3 separate regions of the Homo sapiens genome follow, and regions 1 and 2 are each linked to region 3. Evidence: promoter capture Hi-C in human tissues and cell types (Jung and others, 2019). All regions are on one chromosome and are shown on one strand. Each heading gives the region's core, a stretch centred on a gene start or on the middle of the fragment in contact. The rest is flanking DNA. Distances are from core to core; before and after follow the strand shown.

Region 1 (3,931 bases), core at 1,361-3,860, 190 kb after region 3:
TAGTTTAAACTATATAGTTTCAGGTGATAACAAAATAGGACATTTCAAGGCAATGAATTAAAAAGGTAAGTAACAGTATTAAATATAACCCAGAATTTTATATGAAATATAACCCAGAATTTTCTCTAAGGCAATAAAAACTTTCAAAGTAAGTGATAAGTGTGAGGATTGAATTTTTACGGATGCGCTTAAAATCCAGTGGACAAGCCATTGTTGAGTGAAGATTCAGTCCTCATCTCTCTTATTGGAAGATGAATGTGGGCTAGATCAGTAGATATCAAAGTTTTTGTTTGTGACCCACAGTGAGAAACATATTTTAGGTTATGATCTTGCACACAAATAAAAGTGTCACAAATAAAACAATATCAATATGTACTCTGATAACATTCATTCTATACAATCCTTTTTTTTTTTTTGAGCTGGAGTTTCGCTCTTATTGCCCAGGCTGGAGTGCAATAGTGCAATCTCGGCTCACTGCAACCTCCACCTCCCAGGTTCAAGCAATTCTCCCACCTCAGCCTTCCAAGTAGCTGGGATTACAGGCATGTGCCACCATGCCTGGCTTACTTTGTATTTTTAGTAGAGATGGGGTTTCTCCATGTTGGTCAGGCTGGTCTCAAACTCCTGATCTCAGGTGATTCACCTGCCTCGGCCTCCCAAAGTGCTGGGATTACAGGTGTGAGCCACTGCACCTAGCCTGCAATCTATTTTTTAAAATGCTTTTCACAAGTGAATGGCAGCCTGCAGTTTGCAAAACTGGAACTGGATGACCTTTTCAGCTTTCATCTTTTTTAAAAAAAAATCACAATTCATTGGCAAAATGTCATAAGACTGTATTGCATTTAGATTCCTAAAGCATTCATTTGTCTTTTTTTTTTGGGAGATGGCGTCTTGCTCTGTTGCCCGGGCTGGAGTGCAGTGGCACAATCTCGGCTCACTGCAATCTCCGCCTCCTGGGTTCAAGCAATTCTCCTGCCTCAGCCTCCCAAGTAGCTGGGACTACAGGTGCATGATGCCACGCCAGGCTAATTTTTTGTATTTTAGTAGAGACGGGGTTTCACCGTGTTGCCCAGGCTGGTCTCAAACTCCTGAGCTCAGGGAAACTGCTCACCTCGGCCTCTCAAAGTGCTAGGATTACAGGTGTTTTTATTGTGTGAAATGGAATATTGGAAAGTGGGATTCCAGGGTAACCTGGATGGCAGAAAAGACCTGCTTGCTATGTCTTCCAGGAGCACTTTTTATTATAGATACCACTTATTTTCCCCCTAATCTACAATATAACTACATGTTTGATCTCTGGAATTTTATAAAGGCAAGCTGGAGTATTTTTTCCCTCAAAACTACTTAACTCTCACTTAAGCAGGCAGTAGAGCAGCGTGGTTAAGAGCATGGACTGATGGCAGGCTGTCTGGTCAGCATCCTGGCCATCCCACATACTAGCTGTATAATTTTGGTCTACTTACTTAACCTTACATGCCTCACTTTCCTCATCTATAAAATGGGAATAATAATACTAGTTGAGTATCCCTTTTCCAAAATGCTTGGGACCAGAAGTATTTAGAATTTCAGATTTTTTTAAAATTTTGGAATATTTGCATATACATAATGAGATATCTTGGGGATGGGACCCAGGTCTAAACATAAAGTTATGTTTCATATATACCTCATACACATAGCTTGAAGGTAATTTTATACAACATTTTAAATAATTTCGTACATTAAACAAAGTTTGTGTACACAAGGTCAAGTGTGAAATTTTCTGCTTGTGGTGTTATATCAGTGCTCAAAACTTTTGGAATTTTGAATTAGGAATGGTCAGCCTGTAGTTCCTACCTAACAGAATTGAGGTGAAGATTGAATGAGTTAACATCGTAGACAAGTACAACAGGAATGTTATTAGCTACTGTTAGCTGGACTTAAATTACAATGTAAAGTTTGAGCCTAACTCCAATTTCATGACAAAGTAGAAGAGTAGTGTTATGTTAATAAGTACTTCTAAACCAGTGTCTTGATATTGAGCTACAATAAATATTAAGTCCAATAAAGGTGTTTTTGTTAATCCAAAATGCAATTTCCCCTCAGTCCTGATTCAAGCAGGCCTGCAATAACTTAGTTATCCAACTGATTAACATTCTAAAACTATACTGAGGGAAAAAACATTCTACCAGAAATTTACATTTTGTACTGGAAAATGAAGATCCAGTAAAATGTCACATTTCTGTAGGAATGTAACAATCAGGGCTTTTGTTGTTTAAATGGAAGGATGCAGGCTCCATTCTGTGTAACACCAAAGAAATATGACATGTTTGAGAAATTTTGTATTTTTTTGCATGGTGGCCTTACTTTCTTGTTGTTACTCATTTTTGGGGTGGGGGGAGGTCAGTGGAAAGTGCTTATAGAAGTTTAGAAAAAGTTAGATTCCGCTGCTAAAGGAAGGAAATACGGTATCCATTTTTTCAAATGTTCTACCTATTAAATTGTGAAAATAATAGTATAGATACCCTTTCAAAGTTCTAAATTGGTTAACTTTCCCCCCAAAAAACTAACAAGTGAACCTAAACAGCTACAATATAAACTTTTATAAACATGGCCTAGAACCAAATATTCTACCTGTCATAGGAATGATTACACCACAGAAGGAGGTGAGAATCAGTCATACTTGCCTTCTTGCTTATGACATGTCATTGCTGTCTGTGTAGGTAAAAATCTATTACTATAGTTAGTCGTCTAAATTGCCATAGGAAACTGGTGTGTGTTCAGTGCCTAACTGCAGCTTAACCACTTCTAAAACTTGAACCATAAATGCTTCATATGTATGTGGATTTTCATAACGTCAGAATGGGAGGAAGGCACAGAGTATTTAAGATAAAGGTATTTTTCCAAATAAGGTCTAAAAGGAAAACATGAACTCCCTCCTCTCCCTGGCTCCCTACTCCTGTTAGTCGTAAAGCTTGCCCAAACACATCCTCTCCTTCCCACCCTTCCACCCTCCCTGTGCCCTTGCCCAGGACTTCATTAGCCCACATTTGCATCTCTACAGCCTCCTATAGGCTGCCTTGAGGCCTGAGGCCTTTCCAGCATATCCTCAATACTACTGCTAGGCCTCATCTGTTAAAAATATTACTTTGGGCTTATCATCTTCTCTCTTTATACTCTCATCACTTCCTTGCTTTAACTTGCAGATGGCCACTTGAGTCCTGGCAGCTCTCCTGATTGCCCCTCATGCATACATACACTGGAACCTTCCCACTGAACTCCTGTATCCAGATGTTCCACCATCACACTCCAAATCCGGCCTGGCAAATGCCACCTTGCTCCTCTCCCCAAGTCAAAGATTTTAGGGCACTGACTTTCATTCAGTCACTCGAGCTAGCAATCTAGAAGTTATCGTTGGCTCTTCCCATGTCCTCAGCAGCACAGACAGCTCATAAGTCCTGGCCCCACTGGGTTGTGCCCATCTGCCTTCCTTACATTCATTTCTTGTGGCTTTTTGCCTAGATGAGTAGACTTTGCAATATAATGCTGTACATTGAGGACATAGAAAGAAAATATGAGAAAGTATATGTATTTATGTTAAAAGGTAAGAAATTAAGCTTTCTTAATATTTGCTATAAAGATAGACACTGGGTCCTCAATTTGTCTCTTATGTTCCATGTTCACATGTCAAATAGAATAATAGGAAGTATCCTGAGGGCATGGTAGGAATTCCACTGTCAGTGTGTCACTCTGTTTTGCTGTTTCCTTGCTATGAGTTGTTTTCAATGGGCCTAATTTTGTAAAAGCAAGATTTTAAAATAACAGGCCATCACTAAAATGGCCAGGCAAACCGTTTCTTACCACCAGGAGTTTTCCGGCTTTTTTCTTGGCAAAGTATTTAAAGATAAGTTACACATATTTTTTATTTCTTTTAGATGAAAGTGTCCTAAGTTAG
Region 2 (4,092 bases), core at 50-2,549, 130 kb after region 3:
AACATGTAACTGACAGACTTTCAAAGGGTCCCAGCTTCAAGGACTTTTGACTGCAAAGACTTAAGGAAAGAGGACAGTAAATGCATCCTCACCTTTCACAAGCCTATAAAGATTTGGAAGGAAACAATTCCTCTTATTTCCTTAGGCAAGAGGAGTCCTAGAGAACAGACTTGGTGCATTTAAACATTGAAGGGTTGGCCAGGCGCGGTGTCTCACACCTGTAATCGCAGCACTTTGGGAGGCTGAGGCAGGCGGATCACGAGGTCAGGAGATCGAGACCATCCTGGCTAACATGGTGAAACCCCATCTCTACTAAAAATACAAAAAAAATTAGCCAGGCATGGTGGCAGGCACCTGTAGTCCCAGCTACTCAGGAGGCTGAGGCAGAAGAATGGCGTGAACCCGAGAGGCAGAGCTTGCAGTGAGCCGAGATCACGCCACCTCACACCAGCCTGGGCGACAGAGTGAGACTCTGTCTCAAAAAAAAAAAAGAAAAAAAAACATTGAAGGGTTATTGACCTAAATTCCATTTACCTCTAAAATGCTTATAGGCAAAGCTGTTCCATAAGCAACTTCCCTTGTTACAATAACAGTTGTGGGTAGGCAATAGAGAACATCTGTTTCCACAAAATATATTCATAAATCCAGTTTTAAAATGAAAATTCAGGCTGAACTGTATTTCGTAAAACTGAATCTAAAACTTTAAGTAGGACTGTTTTTCAAGTAAGGAGCATTACAGCTATTTTTTCTATTTATGTTTTGTTTGTTTTCAAACTATTTCTTACACATTAACATCTACTTTATATTACTGTAAATAGTGCCACTTGGGTACACCCGATTAATTATTGTCACTTTCACTGGATTCAGGTGGGAGCCGGAATACTGCCAGCATGGTCTGCTCTCACGCTGCTCAAAATACCCGTTCAGGTATTTCCCAGCTCCGCCACAGAGGTCTACAGCACCTCCTCAAGCAACCAGAGGAGAAGTCAGAACATTACCAGTATTTCCAGGAAGGTGGGGCCAGCGGGTTGGTCCCTGACTGTGTGTGAGCTGAGCATGACAGCCTCGGGAAGTTGATATGGAGCATGCATTAGATTCAGCTCACTCTCAAAAAAAGTTGTAAGTGCCAAAACAGATGATTAATTTGCTGGCATCTGAAAAAGAGGAGCGGCATGTTTGCTGCCTGGCACATATCACTTGGACCTATTCCTTATTTGTGACTCTGATCCTGAGAGAAATTTCAAGGAAACGTATGTCTTCGGGAACTTTAGAAAGCTTGGGAAAGAGGATGAAGATGATGACTAACATTGACTGGCACCTACTATTGCTGGCCAGCATATAAGGAACTTTATCTTCATTATTTCATAATATCTTTATAAAAAATATCTGGGCTAAACCAAGCCTGAAAATTTTTAAACAGTATATTCATCTTTGTTTCCATGTAGGGCATCTCGGGAGGCCCCCGATGTGAGAAAGGTCAGTTACCTGAGATCTCAGTGTGACAGAATATGATCTGTGTTGCTTTAGAATGGGGGCGGCTGACCAGAGGCCTCTCAGTCTTGAGCAAAGAATGTTAATCTCACAAATGTACTCACCATCATAACAAATGCCAATGAAGTCTTTCTTCCATTGCTGCACCCACAAACAAATGTTTAAACTGTTTCAGCTTGTTTGCTAAGGTTCAAAATCCATTTTCCAACATTTGTAGAGCTAAGAAAACGCTAAAGGTCACAAAGCCCGTATTATTTCTATATTGCAAAAATTTAGTCACAGTGGAAGAAGGGCAGAAACAAAAGTAAAACAAGGGAAGATGTGGAGAACAGAAAAGGAAAGAGATGAATAAAAAGAGGCATTCCATTCCTTTATTCATTAATTTATTGATTCATTAACCAATTATTTGAGGATTTTATATACTAGCACTGTTATATGCTGAAAAATAAAGTCAAATGAGATGTGGTCCTTATCGTCACAGAGTTCTTAGTGGAGAGAGAGTAATACACAAATAAATAAAAAAATTGCAGTACCAGTGTCTTAAATATTATAAGAGATGTGCTATAAAGGATAGAGAAACATACTTTAATTTAGATCTCTTAAAAAGTAAAGCCTTCTTGGAAGAGATAATGCTGTGGCTGAATTTTGAAAGACTGGAGACATTTTCCAGATGGAGAAGGAAAGAAAGAACACATCAGAAAGAAAGATTAACATAGATAAAACACATTGAGGCATGACTCCCTTGGGAAATGTTTTTATGGCCAGGGTCTCTAGTGACCTATCTGACAGAGAGAACCACAGCCAATGCTGGGAAAATCAGAAACCTGATAAAAATTCTCTCTTTATTTCTGGGTTACTTAATATAGTTAGTAAGGAAGTAGTCTAAAAAGGCAATGATGAGATGAGGTGATGTCAGGGGAACAAACTGAGGTTTACACTGGAATAGTAAAACATAGCATAAGCACAGAGAGGTCTGCAGTGTTAGTGAACTGGGGTGAGATTAGGAAGGCTAACTGGGCAGAGCTTGGACCACAAAGTCCTAGCTGCACACTAGACTAGATTCTGTATGTAAATGTCAAGTGTGCTGGACAATGTCTGAAGATTAACACCAACTTAGGAGCAGAGAAAAAGCAGCAAACTCCATGCATTTCATTGACACATTTTTGAACAGCATTCGTGTACATAACACTTTGTCATACATATGAAGGAAAAGGAGACAGAGTAGTTGACTGAAAAGTTTATGCACAAATTGGGAAAGTGAGACATAGAAAGTCAAACAGCAAACAACCGAGAGGAGGAGGACACACAGAACTGCCACACGACAGAAGATACAGGCGTGCGGATGCAGGATGGGTTTTTCAAGATGGTTAGAATTGGGTGGATGAGAAGGGAACAGTATAGCCCTTAGACCTGAGCGAGAGGCACTGGCCTGAGCCCCACACTTTCAAGGCCCCCTTCTGGTCATCCTTTGGCCACGTCCCTCCACAAAGCAAAAAAAAAAAAAAAATCCTTTGAGCCAAGGGATCATGCCTCCCTATGGCCACAACTTAGCCTCCCCAGATGACATTTCAAGTTCCCCAGGCCACAGAATTCTCTGCGAAATAACCCTAGATCCACTTCCAGAACAACTCCTTGCCCTTACAAGAAAGTCTGTGTTCAATGACTTGGAATTCAATTTGTGGCTGTGTACAGCAAATATGAGAAGAATGGAAAGACTGGTAGCAGGGAGAGCCTTATTTAACTCTGGACCCCTGATTACTTACCACAGTTGGTAGGAATGTAAAATGGTACAACCACTTTGCAAAACAGTTCAGTAGTTTGGTAAAAACATAAACATACACCTACCATATGATCCAGTTTTCCACCCCCAGGTATCCATCCAAGAGAAAAGAGGAGTTCGAAACCGGTTTGGCCAACATGGTGAAACCTCAGCTCTACTAAATATACAAAAATTGGCCGGGCGTGGTGGTGCACACCTGTATTCTCAGCTACTCAGAAGGCTGAGGCGGGAGAATCACTTGAATGCAGGAGGCGGAGGTTGCAGTGAGCTGAGATCGCACCACTGCACTCCAGCCTGGGCAAAGAAGTGAGACTCTATCAAAAAAACAAACAACAACAACAACAACAAAAACTAAACTAAAACGATAGAGACATATACAGAGTAAAAAGTTAGTCCCTCCCTTTTCCTTCTCCCCATGCCCACTATCCTCCTTGCCTCTCCAGCAGTAGTCACTGTTAACAGTTTGATGTGTGGTCTCTGGCATTTGCCTTATGTGTATACTATATGTACTTGTACATACATGCCTAGGCAAGTAGATTGGAGTTGGTAAACAATTTATTTCTCTAAATCAAATCCCAGAAAGCAGAGTTTGTGTTTATGTTATCTGATTGCACTCTGATTTTCTTTCTTACAGGAAAGCATTCTTTAAGGCTTAGGAAACTATAGGAATTCTTTGAGGCTTTTCTTTTTTTACCTAGTTTATTTAACTTATTTTTATTAGTAATTTGAATAAAGGTTTTCCACCCCCATGCAAAGACTTGAACGCAAATATTCATAGCAATTTTATTTGTAATTGCTAAAAAGCAGAAACTCCCAAATGT
Region 3 (3,844 bases), core at 896-3,395:
CTTGCTGTACTGTGGTCCACTTTCATGAAAATGGTACCATGTGACTCTAAAGTAGGCAGACTTTAAAACAAAGGAGTGGGCCAGGCACGGTGGCTCACGCCTGTAATCCCAGCACTTTGCGAGGCTAAGGCGGGTGGATCAGCTGAGGTCAGGAGTTCGAGACCAGCCTGACCAACATGGAGAAACCCAATCTCTACTAAAAATACAAAATTAGCTGGGCGTGGTGGCGCATGCTTGTAGTCCCAGCTACTCGGGAAGCTGAGGCAAGAGAATCGCTGGAGCCTGGGGGATGGAGGTTGCAGTGAGCTGAGATCGTGTGATTGCACCCCAGCCTAGGCAACAAGAGCTAAACCCCGCCTCAAAAAACAAACAAACAACAACAAAAAACCCCAACAAACAAACAAAAACAAAGGAGTAAAACACACCTAACCTACTACAAATATATGGATCCAAAAAAGTGCTGACCTCTATGAGAGGCGACACAATGTTGCAATGAATTGTTATTCATCTGAACACCTATCAGACACATTTTAGTTGCGGACAAAATGACCCATCTCTTTTATCCCTGTGCCACAACATTGCTGGAAGCCCACATCTGCAAATGGCAGGGAAGCAACTCTCATTCTACACCCCCCACCCCCTACAGCCAGGACTTCAACATCACTCAATTTTGGCCCTAACCAGTGTGACTAATGATAATTGGTCATTCTCTGGAACTGGCTTCAAACCACCCACTTCATTCACCACTTCATCCACCCCAGTCATTCTTTGGACTTGGCTCCAAACCATTTTTGCTTTATTGAAATAAAGCAAAATACAACAAATTCACCCTAAAAGAATGATGATTTGCTTGTCATTAGAGAAGAAGTAAGTTTTGGGTACAGGTGGCCTTGTTGGCATGACTATGGGGCCTCCTTCCTCTGAGCAGTTAGGGAGGTCTGAGCAAATTGCTCAAGTCGGGCTACTTGTTTTAAATTTAGGTCATTAGATTCACTTTACAGTTGTACCTCAGTTTTGCTGCATGAGAAGCAGTGGTATTTACATCTGCTTAGATTTTCTCCTTAGCTTCCTCATGGATTTAAAGTAAATGAATAAGGAGAGAGGCACCTAATTTCTACCTTGGTTAAAGGGAAGTGAAAGGACAGGCGTCCCGCTCTCCCCAAGACTGGGAATGTGGAGCCTGACCAACATTTCCTGCTGCTTTGCTTGTGATTTCAGGCAAGCACAAGGAAATTGCTGGGAGAAGACACATTTCTTCTTCTTCTTCTTCTTCTTTTTTTGAGATGGAGTTTTGCTCTTGTTGCCCAGGCTGGAGTTCAATGGCGTGATCTTGGCTCACCGCAACCTCTGCCTCTCGGGTTCAAGCGATTCTCCTGCCTCAGCCTCCCGAGTAGCTGCGACTTTAGGCATGCGCCACCACGCTGGGCTGATTTTGTATTTTTGGTAGAGACGGGGTTTCTCCATGTTGGTCAGGCTGGTCTTGAACTCCCGACCTCAGATGATCCACCCGCCTCAGCCTCCCAAAGTGCTGGGATTACAGGTATGAACCACAGCGCCCGGCCAAGAAGACACATTTCTAAACCCAACTCAGCCTTTTGTAGAGTCCAGTTTTCTTTCTACACTTGAGAGGGCCTCAGAAACCCAGAAATTTTGCGGGTATGTGTGTGTGTGTGTGTGTGTGTGTGTGTGTGTGTGTGTGTGTGTGTGTGTGTATGGTCCGTCCGCAGACTCTTCAAGAACTCGAATGCCATTCTCCCTCCTTCGGATGGACAGCGCCCCGCGTGCCCGCACACACCCGGTTCACTTACCTGAGGCATCTGCGGATCGTTGATGTCCCAGCTGAGCTGCATCCCGTAGGAGCACACGCCGACCGCTTCCTGCACCGCGGCCGCCGGCATCTGCCCAACTCGCTCGCGCTTTCCGCCCAGGGTTCTGAAAAATAGAAGAAAAAAGGACAGGTGCGCCAGGTGGGTTTTTTTTCTTCTCTTTAAAGAAGAAAGTGGGGTGTGTGAAGGGGAGGTGCAGAGAGAGAGAAAGAGAGAGAGGCTGTTTAGATATCTGGAAGCTGGGGACAATGGTTATGGACCCGGGCGGGGCCTTGTCCTTGGCCGCGGTGCTGAACGTTCTCCACCCGAACGGCAGCATCGACCTCTGGCAGCTGCCCCCTCCTTTATAAAGATATACCTCCGGGGGGCTCCGCCCTGTCTCGCCTACCTCGCTAGCGCCCACGCTCCAGGGGCCGGTCGCCCCCTCCACCACAGTCCCAGGAACGGAGGTGGAGGTTAAACTCAGCCCTGGAAGCAAATGGAAACTGCAGCCAGAGGGTGGGGGTGGAGAGGGTAAGTAGGAATGTATCCTTTAAGTTTAAAACCTTATTATTTTCTTCTTTTCTTTTCTTCTTTTTTGTCTCACTCTGTTGCCCAGGCTAGAGTGCAGTGGCGCCATCTCAGCTAACTGCAACCTCTGCCTCCCAGGTTCAAGCGATTCTCCTGCCTCAACCTCCCGAGTAGCTGGGAATACAGGTCCGTGCCACCACCCTGGCTAATTTTTGTATTTTTAGTAGAGACAGGTTTTAGCCATGCGAAACCCTGACCAAGCTGGTCTTGAACTCCTGACGATCTGCCCGCCTGGGCCTCCCAAAGTGCTGGGATTACAGGCGTGAGCAACCGCGACCGGCCTATTTTTTTTCTTTTTTCTAAACGCGTCCAGCTTCCCTGATTTCGGAAAGGGGCTTAGATGGAGGCTTTCCAGCAAAGTCCCCTGAGAGCCAACACTCAATTCCAGGAGAGCATGGGAACCGTGCGTGGGCCCCTCTGCCGTCCGCGTGCGCCCTAGCCTGAATAACCGCGCCCACGCCTCCTAGTTAGGGGTCAGCCCATTTTGGGCCTCCACTGCCGGCTCTTCCCCTAACTATTGTGAGTGTCTCGCAGTCTTGGCTCTGCTGTTTGGGACGTGCCAGGGTGCGCCAAGCCTCCGCGTATGCTCGCGAGCCCAGGCGCCTTCACGCTCCCGGGGACTTCGGAGGGACCTGGCCCTGCAGGAACGGAGTCCTACAAAGTGAACCTGGAGGAGGTGGGGGGCGGAAATGAGCCCGGGGTAGGTGGGAGCCTGGGGTAGGTGGGAGCCTGGGGAAGGAGGGAAAGGGGAGAGGGGAAAAGTCCCAAAGAACTCGCTTTCTCCACTGCTTTGGCTCCCTCTGGGTCTCAGCTTCCTTATCTGTTTATCTGTTAAATAAGAGGTTGTGGTTCGGCGAGCTCTCAGTTGCCACCCACCCGAACACAAATCTTTTTTTTTTTTTTTTTTTTTGAGACGGAGTCTCACTCTGTCTTCCCGGCTGGAGTGCAGTGGCGCAATCTCGGCTCACTGCAACCTCCGCCTCCCAGGTTCAAACGATTCTCCTGCCTCAGCCTCCCGAGTAGCTGGAACTACAGGCGCGCCATCGCGACCAGCTAATTTTGTATTGTTAGTAGAGACAGGGTTTTACCAAGTTGGCCAGGATGGTCTCGATTTTTTGACTTCGTGATCCTCCTGTCTCGGCCTCTCAAAGTGCTGGGATTAAAGGCGTGAGCCACCGCGCCCGGCCCACAACTCTTAAAAAAAAACTTCACTGATATAGTCTTGGAAATATCACGACGAAATTGAATTTACTCCATTACAGTCTTGGGAGGCTTTGGAGGACTAGAGAATCGCGGTGGTGCGGAGGTGCGCAGGACAATGTGGGTTCTCCGGGGCTGGGACGAAACCTTCATCATCTGAGCAGCCGACTCGCCCAGGGCTACTCCGGCACATGGAGACCCTCAGTATATATATATATAAAAAAAACAAAAAACAAAAAACAAACAAA

The links. Contacts are between HindIII fragments. The study calls those that stand out against the background at their distance.
Region 1: a contact is called between a fragment that was not itself captured here and the fragment with the promoter of GCM2 in region 3, in 1 of the 25 tissues and cell types used here (aorta).
Region 2: a contact is called between a fragment that was not itself captured here and the fragment with the promoter of GCM2 in region 3, in 2 of the 25 tissues and cell types used here (mesendoderm cells and stomach).

What each region holds. Positions count from the first base shown.
Region 1 is chr6:11,073,778-11,077,708 of GRCh38, forward strand. It overlaps ELOVL2-AS1 (ELOVL2 antisense RNA 1), which reads left to right. Exons shown (of 5, transcript NR_038964.1): 5 at 3,912-3,931. Among named protein-coding and RNA genes, the nearest start is that of SMIM13, 18 kb to the right of the region's middle. The HindIII fragment of the contact is 3,630 bases long and covers 796-3,931 here.
Region 2 is chr6:11,010,887-11,014,978 of GRCh38, forward strand. The region is part of intron 1 of ELOVL2 (ELOVL fatty acid elongase 2); the gene reads right to left. Among named protein-coding and RNA genes, the nearest start is that of ELOVL2-AS1, 31 kb to the right of the region's middle. The HindIII fragment of the contact is 6,284 bases long and covers 1-4,092 here.
Region 3 is chr6:10,879,896-10,883,739 of GRCh38, forward strand. GCM2 (glial cells missing transcription factor 2) reads right to left here and starts at 2,146. Exons shown (of 5, transcript NM_004752.4): 1 at 1,809-2,146. The coding sequence starts at 1,898. RefSeq lists a silencer at 2,041-2,335. The HindIII fragment of the contact is 12,545 bases long and covers 1-3,844 here.